Regions from separate parts of the Homo sapiens genome. Here regions 1 and 3 are each linked to region 2. The links are contacts of gene promoters, found by promoter capture Hi-C in blood cells and fetal thymus (Javierre and others, 2016). All regions are on one chromosome and are shown on one strand. Each heading gives the region's core, a stretch centred on a gene start or on the middle of the fragment in contact. The rest is flanking DNA. Distances are from core to core; before and after follow the strand shown.

The links. The method cuts DNA at HindIII sites, captures the fragments that hold promoters and counts their contacts. A CHiCAGO score of 5 or more calls a contact.
Region 1: a contact is called between a fragment that was not itself captured here and the fragment with the promoter of KCNG3 in region 2, in 1 of 17 cell types (fetal thymus). The highest score is 14.0, in fetal thymus.
Region 3: a contact is called between a fragment that was not itself captured here and the fragment with the promoter of KCNG3 in region 2, in 1 of 17 cell types (fetal thymus). The highest score is 7.5, in fetal thymus.

What each region holds. Positions count from the first base shown.
Region 1 is chr2:42,563,663-42,567,209 of GRCh38, reverse strand. It overlaps a transcript of MTA3 not described here. Among named protein-coding and RNA genes, the nearest start is that of MTA3, 3.2 kb to the left of the region's middle. The HindIII fragment of the contact is 1,507 bases long and covers 532-2,038 here.
Region 2 is chr2:42,492,273-42,496,018 of GRCh38, reverse strand. KCNG3 (potassium voltage-gated channel modifier subfamily G member 3) reads left to right here and starts at 2,037. Exons shown (of 2, transcript NM_133329.6): 1 at 2,037-3,182. The coding sequence starts at 2,518. It also overlaps a transcript of MTA3 not described here. RefSeq lists enhancers at 716-1,010, 2,335-3,092, 3,093-3,746 and silencers at 1,765-1,844, 1,935-1,984, 2,165-2,254. The HindIII fragment of the contact is 17,203 bases long and covers 264-3,746 here.
Region 3 is chr2:42,587,842-42,591,387 of GRCh38, reverse strand. The region is part of intron 3 of MTA3 (metastasis associated 1 family member 3); the gene reads right to left. All of the region lies in intron 2 of LOC105374555 (a long non-coding RNA gene), which reads left to right. Among named protein-coding and RNA genes, the nearest start is that of MTA3, 21 kb to the right of the region's middle. The HindIII fragment of the contact is 3,506 bases long and covers 1-3,271 here.

The sequences.
Region 1 (3,547 bases), core at 36-2,535, 72 kb before region 2:
AAAATGCTTTGTAAACCAGGGAACACAGAGCACCATGCAAATAACAGGTGTCTCTTGCTTTCTTTTTAACCCCAGAAAACCACAGATTCCCAAGGGTTCTCTGCTGTGTGTCAAATTCTGAGCCATGTGTCAAATTCTGACCCAAAGAAGAAAGCAAAAGTGTTCTGTTCCACACATTGCATAGCTGTCATTCAACATTTACCAGAGATCCCACCAAAAACATTCTGACAAAACTGACATCACTCCATTTCTGAGCTGACACATAAATAGGGTTGAATAATTCACCTGGAATCACACAGTAAACTGGCAGCAATTTTGGGATTATGAATCAGCCCTTTCCTCTGGCCTAGAATGTTCTGAACCACAGTGTTTCTCCAAGTACAAAAGCCACCTAGAAACCATAAAGTGCAAAGAAGTGGATCACAAGCTTTAGGATGTTTTCCCATTAATTTTTCATAAGCAATTTCTCCTCCTTCGAAATCTTTCCCTGTTTTTGTTAATTCATTGTGTGCCTGTCTCATTTCCCAAGCTTAGTGCTCTTGCCAGGTGTTTATGATGACTGTGCTAACCACAATAAATGGTGAAAGATGCCGAGAAAACTCCTCCCTATGTCCCCTTAGGAACAGCCTCATCCAGAAGCCCCCCATGAAAGGCCTCAAAGACTTGAAGGGGACTAGCAGGAGGTAATGATGGTGGCAGGCCTTAGAACCGTTTTTTGCTCTAGATTCTATATATTAGTCTCTTCCATGTCCAGCTCCTAGGCCAATGTCCTCTACATTTCTGAGCTGACACAGTAGATGCTCAGTATCTGAAGAATAAATACCAACAAATCGTGGACTCAAAGAATCAGAAGAGCTGAATACAAGGACTTTGTGAAACTTTTATATGTCCTAATTCCAGAGAGGTTCACACATAAAGGAGTTCAGCAAATGTTTGTAGATTGAAAGAAACCTTTCAACCAAAGACGGGTGGAAAGCCTGCACCTTTAAAAAAGCAAAGGCGCCTCTCCCTTCTTAGCTACATGGTTTAGACCACAAACTTGTCATCAACCAGCCCTAACTTCACTCCTAGTTTGGCAGTTTAACTATAAAGACCTTGAGCAAGTTACTTAACCCCTCTGAGCCTCAAGAGGGGTTACAAAATATGACTACTGGTTGATACCTACCTCAAAGGCTTATGGTAGAAAAAAAAATTTTTTTTGAGACGGAGTTTCGCTCTCGCTGCCCAGGCTGGAGTGCAATGGCACGATTCGGATTCGGCTCACTGCAAGCTCCACCTCCGAGGCTCAAGCAATTCTCCTGCCTCAGCCTCCCAAGCAGCTGGGACTACAGGTGCCCATCACCACGTCTGGCTAATTTTTGTATTTTTAGTAGAGACAGGGTTTCACCATGTTGGCCACACTGGTCTGGAACTCCTGACCTCAAGTGATCTGCCTGCCCAGCCTCCCAAAATGCTGGGATTACAGGCATGAGCCACCATGCCCAGCCTGGTAAAATTTAAATATAGAAGGTGTTTGGCACTTGTTGGGCGCTTCATATGCGTTAGGTCCCTTCTCTCTATTCCAGTTATTCTCATCACTAAGGAAGAAGTGTCTCTCAGGCCATGCCAGAAATCCCAGGGCAAATCCAGCCCTTCCATGGATGAAATTTCCTTGCACAGTTGTTGCAATTAAAGAACCACATACAAGGTAGTTCTTTACCATTTAGTTGAAGAGAAGTGGATGCAGCAAGAAAGCTATAGGTGGCTAGGCATGGTGGCTCACGCCTGTAATCCCAGCATTTTGGGAGGCCAAGGCAGGAGGATCATTTGAGCCTAGGCAACATGGCAAGACCCCACCTCTACCAAAAAAAAAAAAAAAAAGTTAGCCAGTTGGTGCGCACCTATGGTCCTGGCTACTCTGGAAGAGACTGAGGCAGGCAAATCGCTTGAGCCCAGGAGGTAGAGGCTGTGAGCCATGTTTATGCCCCTGCACTCTAGCCTGGGTAATAGAGCAAGACTCTGTCTCAAAATAAATAAACAAAAGAAAAAAAAGAAAGCTTTAGGTGAATAGGTAAAATGGAGAGTTGGTTTTTGTCTCAACGTAGGGATGGAGTTTTTATATGTGCGAAAAAATAAAAAGAGATTGGTGCCGGTTGGCTGAGCGCGGTGGCTCACACCTGTAATCCCAGCACTTTGGGAGGCCGAGGCCGGCGGATCATGAGGTCAGGAGTTCGAGACCAGCCTGGTCAATATGGTGAAAACCCATCTCTACTAAAAATACAAAAAATTAGCCGGGCATGGTGGCAAGCGCCTGTAGTCCCAGCTACTCAGGAGGCTGAGGCAGAAGAATCGCTTGAACCCAGGAGGCAGAGATTGCAGTGAGCCAAGATCACACCACTGTGTTCCAGTCTGGGCAACAGAACGAGACTTCATCTCAAAAAAAATAAATTAAAAGAGATTGGTGCTGGCCACAGTCTGGGAGTTCTGTCATACTGAACCCAGGACAGGAGCCTGGAGGTCTAAAATGTAATTAATCTGAAACCAGAGGCCAGGCTTTGGAAAAGGGACTTTATCTTGTTGGTTCGTGTTTTCCATGATTTATTTCTCTCTTCTTTTTCCTTTCATTAACTTCTTCTCTTATTTAGTAAAATTCTTTCAGAAAAGGCCAGTCTGTCTCATATTCTAAGGAGGGCCTGGGTTTTAAAGGCAGAGGAACATAACCCAAGAGAAGTGTAGGCATATGATGGCAAGAATCAAAGCAGAAGAGCCCCAAGGAGAAAGGAAACAGAATTGGGAGTTCTGTAGCTTCTCTAGTCATAGAGATGGTTCTTCCATAGATCTCCTGTGCAAAAAACATGAAATCCCTAAAGGTCTTGGTTTCGGGCAGTATGTGTTTTCGGATCCCATAGTTCCCTCATGCCCTCACAGGGGAGCTAGCTCAGCCATTTGGCTGCTTCCACAAGAAGGTTCCTTCTCTAGTAACATTACCTTTAGGTAGTAGAAAAGGGACTAAGTCATAATGGGGACAGAAATGAGCCTCTGGGTGGTTAACCTAACTGACCCTACTATTTCTCTTTTTTAACTACTGTAGATTTGAATAAGAAATGGTTGGCCAGGCACAGTGGCACACACCTGTAATCCCAGCACTTTGGGAGGCAAAGGCGGATCACCTGAGGTCAGGAGTTCAAGACCAGCCTGGCCAACATAGTGAAACGCCATCTCTACTAAAAATACAAAAAATTAACTGGGCGTGGTGGCACACGCCTGTAATTCCAGCTACTCTGGAGGCTGAGGCGGGAGAATGGCTTAAACCTGGGAGGCGGAGGTTGCAGTGAGCCGAGATCGCGCCATTGCACTCCAGCCTGGGCAACAAGAGCGAAACTCCATCAAAAAAGAAAGGAAGGAAGGAAGGAAGGAAGGAAGGAAGGAAGGAAGGAAGGAAGGAAGGAAGGAATGTTTGGTCCAGGCCGGGCATGGTGGCTGACACCTGTAATCCCAGCACTTTGGGAGGCCGAGGTGGGCAGATCATGACGTCAGGAGATCGAGACCGTCCTGGCTAACATGGCGA
Region 2 (3,746 bases), core at 788-3,287:
ATTTTTTAACGGCTTCCTGATGAATTGGCTCTTGGTATCAAGCCAGGCTCATCTCTGGCTCACATCTGCAAACTTTTCCCCATCCTCACGTCCTACAACAAATCCATCTTCAAGACCTGCAAAGTTCTTGGTCTCAGCGTTTCTCAGAACAGACCCTTCTTCATCTTCACAGACACGGGGTTGGGGATCCCATTCCTGGGTTGCGAAATGACCTTCTCCTTAGAATGACCCAAAGTGCAAAGGCATCTTCCTGAAATAAAGCTTTCATCAAGCCATTTCTGCTATGGAAACCTCCAGGGATTCCATTGCTTATGGGATCCAATTTAAATGCTGCAGTTGAGATCCCCATTGTTTCAGTGGGCAAGTGCATTATACTTCTTCACAGACTTTAAACCTCCACATTCGAGATTTTGCTACTAGGAATGTTTTGCCCTTTCTCTGTGCCAACTCATGGCCATCAGCACCTCCAATTCTGTCTTGAAACTCACTTTCTTACAGATATTTTTCTTGTTTAATATCTACTTAGTAGATACTAAACAGCAAAGTAGCAGTATCTACCCAGTAGACACTAAATAGCAAAATAGATACTGAATAGCAAACTATTTAGTAGATACTAAAGTAGCAAATAACTCCTGTTTTTGAGCTTTTAATCACATTTAGTGCTCTTAAGATAAATTATCCAAGTCTGGGGATAAACAACTCACAGAGATTTTCATTCTTTAAGAAGCCACCGAGAGTGATTTTACTTAAAAGACAGCACTCACATTTTCAGTTGTCTGCCTTTTCACTAGGAATCCACTTAAGAACCAGCGCAAAAGGACTCCGTTTGGCGACCTCTAGCGGGCACCGGACAATCCTACAAAATTACGAAAAGTAGAGGGCAATGAAAAACTCTTCCCTTTAACCAGCCAGGTTACCCTGTGGTCAGATGACCGCATCTCACCCTACCCCACCCTTATTTTTTTCTTCTAGTATTTGTTTTGCATCTAACACGGTTCGCCTTACAACTCACCTGTCTCGCCTCCGGCGGGCTGGGCTGCCGGTGTCGGGTGTCAGGTGAATGAATTGCTGGTAGCAGTTTAAAATAATCCCTGCCAAGTGGAACCCGCTTTCTGGGCACGGACAAGAGCGCGGGGTAGATCGCTCTGCGGAGCCTTCACGGGGCTCTTCCCGCTCGGAGGGCCGGTGCTGCAGCCGGGTCAGGGGTGCGCGGGGGAAATCAAGATATTTTGAAAAGGAGGATGCAGACGAAGACCAAGAGAAAGGCTGTTTTTGCCGGTGACAAGGCGTTCCTCCCCAGACTTTCATCCCACTCTAAGGGCAGCATCTCGAGAGGGTCCAGGCGCGCTACACGTTAGGCGCCTTCTCAGGACTCGCGCCCCAGAACGTGGGGGCCGGGGCCGGGTCGGGGACCGCTTCCCTCCGCGGGCTGGCAGGCGGCACCGAGGCTGGGGGATGGGGCGTGTAGCCGCCCTCTGAGCACGCGGTACGTGGGTCGCCCCGCGCGGCGGTAGGAAGAGCAAAGTCGGCAGGAAAAGCCGTGGCTGGGATGCCTTCCCTGAGAAATCCTTAGGGGCGATGTCAGAACCCGAGCTGGGCTCCGGACAGTTTCTGGAAAAAGCTCTCCAAACGCCGTCTGTCCCCGCACCCGAGTCCACACTGGGCTTTGAACCAGGGCTGTTAAAAGGGGCCCTGGGGACTGCCCAATTCATCCCGATGGCCCAGGGCAGGACGCGGGAGCAGGCATCCCGGCGCTGGGCTCCCCGCTCCCCCGCCCTGCGGACCCCTCCCCGCCACTACGGGCCGGAGCGGAGGGGGAGGACGGCGTCACGAGGCGGGGAGCCCGAGGTCCAGGGCGGGGCGCCCGGGAATCCCAGCCCGAGCAAGCCGGGGAGGTGCGGGCGCGGGCGGGAAGCGGAGGGCGGCGCGGAGGGAGGTGAGCGGCGCGCGCGGAGCCGGCGGGCGAGGAGGAGGACTGCACAGAGGCCCCGCCCCCGCCGCCGCGAGCCGGCTCTTCGCCGCCTCCGAACCCGCTCACTTTGCCTCTCGCCTCTGGACGGCGGCGGGGCGGCCGCCGGATTCGCGGCCGCAGGGAGCGCCGGAGACGGGGAGCTATTCCGCCCCGGCGGCTCCATTCGGCGCCCGCAGCCCTCAGGGGGTCGGCCCCGCGGCTTGGGAGAGGGCACCGCGGCCTCGGTGTGCGCAGCCCTCGGGCGCGAGGGTCGGCGGCGCGGACACAGCCGCGTTCCCAGCCGGTGGGGCTCAGCGCTGGCGCCGGCGAGGACTCCCCGGCCACCCGCAGGTACCGCCGGGCGGAGGGCGCGCTACTAGCAGCGCCGGAGATACTCGAGCCCAGGGACCCCCGGGCCAGCGGAGGGCAGGAGCGGAGCCCCGAGGGAGCGCGGGCCCCGACGGCGCGCTCCCCCGTCAGCCACGGGCAGGCAGGCCCCGCGTGGCGGCTTGGGGTGGGGGGCTGCAGCGGGGCCCTCGGGCCGAAAGTCCCCCGGGCGGCCAGCCATGACCTTCGGGCGCAGCGGGGCGGCCTCGGTGGTGCTGAACGTGGGCGGCGCCCGGTATTCGCTGTCCCGGGAGCTGCTGAAGGACTTCCCGCTGCGCCGCGTGAGCCGGCTGCACGGCTGCCGCTCCGAGCGCGACGTGCTCGAGGTGTGCGACGACTACGACCGCGAGCGCAACGAGTACTTCTTCGACCGGCACTCGGAGGCCTTCGGCTTCATCCTGCTCTACGTGCGCGGCCACGGCAAGCTGCGCTTCGCGCCGCGGATGTGCGAGCTCTCCTTCTACAACGAGATGATCTACTGGGGCCTGGAGGGCGCGCACCTCGAGTACTGCTGCCAGCGCCGCCTCGACGACCGCATGTCCGACACCTACACCTTCTACTCGGCCGACGAGCCGGGCGTGCTGGGCCGCGACGAGGCGCGCCCCGGCGGGGCCGAGGCGGCTCCCTCCAGGCGCTGGCTGGAGCGCATGCGGCGGACCTTCGAGGAGCCCACGTCGTCGCTGGCCGCGCAGATCCTGGCTAGCGTGTCGGTGGTGTTCGTGATCGTGTCCATGGTGGTGCTGTGCGCCAGCACGTTGCCCGACTGGCGCAACGCAGCCGCCGACAACCGCAGCCTGGATGACCGGAGCAGGTACTCCGCCGGCCCTGGGAGGGAGCCCTCCGGGTAGGACGCACTGCTTCTCTACCCGTCCCGTCCGTCCTGTCGCGTCTGTCCGTCCCGTCCATACGTCCCGTCTCCGTCCTGTCCGCCTCCGGGCGACCGAGCCAGCGGGGTGCGCGCCCAGCGAGGCCCAGGCGCGGCCAACTACGGGACCGGTCGGTCCCCACTCCTACCCCGTTGTCCGGGGCACCAGCGGGGTCTGGCCCTTACACTAGACGCACCTCTTGAGGGCGAAATCCTCAGGCATGGGGAGGGGCGTGTAGAGATAGACAAATGTCCCCTCTTTGTAGTTTACTTTTGCGCAGAGAGCAACCTGCTAATTACATTTTTCTGAACTTTTATTGTTAGGGTTCAACAATTAAGCCTTGAACTAAGCGCAGTTTGAATTATTTGCCAATTTTTGGTAGTGTTTGGAAAGATGGATTCTTGTTATGGTGAAATGTGCACTCTCCACACATTCTATACACTCTGCCCCCGGCATACTATGTGCTGTAATGGAATCGTTATATTATAAAGCAGGTTAATTTATCGATAGACTCTAAATAATGGATGTCTGTGCCCTTTTCT
Region 3 (3,546 bases), core at 269-2,768, 96 kb before region 2:
GGCCTTCACATTCTACCACCACTCACTCACTGACTCACTTCAAGGCCTGGAATCTCCATTCATGGTAAGTGCCCTACACAGGTGTATCACTTTTTATCCTTTCTACTGCATTTTTACTGTACTTGTTCTATGTTTAAATATGTTTAGATAAACAAATACCCAAAATTGGGTAACACCTGCATACAGTATTCAATACAATAACATGTGTACAGATTTGTACCCTAAGTACAAATAGGCTATACCACATAGCCTAGGTGTGTAATAGGCTATACCATCTAGGTTTGTGTAAGTACACTCTATGATGTCCACACAAAGACAAAATCACCTAATGACGCATCTCTCAGAACATATCCTTGTCACAAAGCAATCATGGCTATGTTCTGCAGACTGCTCAGTAGCAAACGATGAAAAATACCCTAATCCTCTACCAGTACACAGTGGTCAAATTACAGTACCTCAAAGTGTGGAATAACACACAGTCATGAAAACTGGAACACAGTTTTAAAAAAAGCAAACAGGCGGGCAGATCACTTGAGGTCAGGAATTCGAGAGCAGTCGGGCCAATGTGGTGAAACCCTGCCTCTACTAAGAATACAAAAATTAGCCAGGCATGGTGGTGCACACCTGTAGTCCCAGCTACTCAGGAGGCTGAGGTGGGAGAAGTGCTTCAACTCAGGAGGCGGAGGTTGCAGTGAGCCGAGATCGCACCATTGCACTCCAGCCTGGGTGACAGAGCGAGCGAGACTCCACCTCACAAAAAAAAAAAAAAAAAAAGCAAACATGAAAAAAAGCAAGCCCAGTTTCTCAGTCCATTTTGGGTTGCTATAAAAGAATACTTGAGGCTGGGTAATCTACAAAGCAAAAAGGTTTATTTGGCTCACAATTCTAATGGCTGTAAAGTTTATGACTGGGCATCTGCATCTGATGAAGGAATCAGGCTGCTTTCAGTCATGGCAGAAGGTGAAGGGGAACCAGTATGCAGCGATCACATGGCAAGAAAGGAAGCAAGGTTGGAGGTGTGCTGGTTCTTTTTAAAAACCAGCTCTCTAGGGAACTAACAAAGTGAGAAGTCACGTCTACTCCAGGGAGGGCATTAATTTAATCCATTCAAGAGGAATCTACTCCCATGACCCAACCATCTCCCATTATGCCCCACCTCCAACACCAGGGATCAAATCTCAACATGAGTTTGGAGGGCACAACATCCAAACCACAGCACGCAGGAAAAGGGCTATAGTGTACCCAAAGTCTCCAAAAGAAGAACCTGTCTCTTGGGTGTATAAGAAGACATTCTAAGGGGTACACAGAAACATAGGTTTAAGATCAACACCCACATGCTCCTACTGATCTGCCTGAGAACTAGCACAAGCTCAAGGCATCAGACTGATCTCTCCTCATCTCCACTTCTCACAACTGCCCTTGTCTTATATACAGGCATCTCCTCTCAACCACCCTAAATCTTACTGCAGAACTTGGGTGAAACATGGGGAGTAAAAACCTCCAGGATACCAAACAAAGGGACCATTGGTGACAAAAGAGAAATACAATACAGGTCTCTGAGAAGCCTCTAACCCAGATATCAAAAAGTTTCACAGTAGGGTTTTGTGTCCTATACATACTTCAGCCTGGGCAACATGGTGAAACTTGTCTCTACTGAAAATACAAAAATTAGCCGGGCATGGTGGCACATATCTGTAATCCCAACTACTCCAGAAGCTGAGGCAGGAGAATCGCTTGAACCTGGAAGGCAGAGGTTGCAGTAAGCCGAGATGGCACCACTGCACGCCAGCCTGGGTGAAAGAGCAAAACTCTCTCTCAAAAAAACAAAAATCCAAAAAGAGGTGGTTACCTTACAGATGTACAGTACTCATTTATTAAAATTGGAAAAAAGGAGTCAGACTTTCTGGCAGAAAATCAGTGTTATTTATTTAGCTGCCTGGTTTGTCAGGGAAGACTGGCTTTGCCATTAAGGTTACTGGTGATAATTTTCCACAACTGAACAAATTAAATCCACAGTTCCAAGAATTAGATGAAAATATATTTAAATAGTTTATAATTATATTAAAATTTGCATCATGTATTTAAATACATATTTAAGTATGTACATGATCTAAGAGTTAAACATTTACCGGACATAAATTTAAAACACAAACGTATATTTTAATGAACATTACTTCATTACTTCAACTTTCCCAAACCTTTGAGTATACTGGTTGAAATAAGGTGCCGATGATGGTTTTATGTGTCAAACTATCTAAACTATAGTACCTAGTCATTCAATCAAAATCTAATTTAGATATTGTTATGAAAATATTTTGTAGATATGAGTAACATCAGCTGACTCGAAGTTAAGAAGATTGGCCTCCACAATCAGGGTGGGCCTCATCCAATCAGTAAAAGGCCCTAAGTGCAAAACTAAGGCTTCCCTGAAGAAGAAATGTCCACCTAACAGACAGCCTCCCTGTGGATTTCAGACTTGCCTAGCCAGCCCCAGCAATTATGTAAACCAGTTCCTTGCAAAAAAAATCTCTTTATATGTATATAAACCTGTTGAAAATTTTATATAGCATATATATATATGTATAATACATACATGTGTATACATGCATACATATGTGTCTGTATATTTATACACATACATAATCTCCATCTGGTTCTCTTTCTCGGGTAAAACACTAATTGATACACCTATAGGGATAGGTGAATAGTAAGAAGTATAATTAATAATCTTTTGTTAGGTCTCAGTAAAACCTTTTTACTTTGCTTCTCAGAAAATGAGAATGCAAAGGGCCCTAATGACTTGTTAAAAAACCTAAATCTCTTCCATGTCTGCTGGTTTCAAATTATCTGCTTCTAGCAAAACTGAAAGAAGACCTAATTGAATTGTCAGCTGCTAAATCATTAAAAATCCTTTATTGTCAATGACTGCTATATGCTTTTTCAAACACAGTTGAGAAGAACAAAGAACTGACACCTTTATAAGCTCTAAGGGCAGAGATTTCGGTAGCTTTGTTCACCACTCATCACCAGTACTTAGTAGAATGTCCAGTACACAGCAGGAGCTCAAAATACATTTGGTAAATGAATACATAGTAAAACTCCACCATTCTGATCTACTTACTTACATGTAAAAATTTTGTTAGAATCTACATGTATATAAATCAAACATGAGGAACAGAATGAAAGCTAAACCTGTCTCATTCTAGCAATGAGGTATATTATTTCAAGGATTCATTAAGCTAATTGGAGTGAGAGGAAGCCCCACTAAGCTTAAGATTTCCTATGAAAATGTCACACTTTTAGTTTTACTAATTATCAAAAATTTTACAATGTATACTATTATTATAAAAATCCAAGGAAAAATGTTAAGACTCTGAGCCTTATGAACTCAGAAAATGTAAATAGTTTTACATTTTAATTTACATAGGCATTTCTGTTGCAGTGATTCATAAGATAATTAATATAATTTGCAAGCATAAAAAACATTAGGTTAGTACACCAGGGACACCTGGAACCCCAGCACCTTAGGAGGCCAAGGTGGGCAGA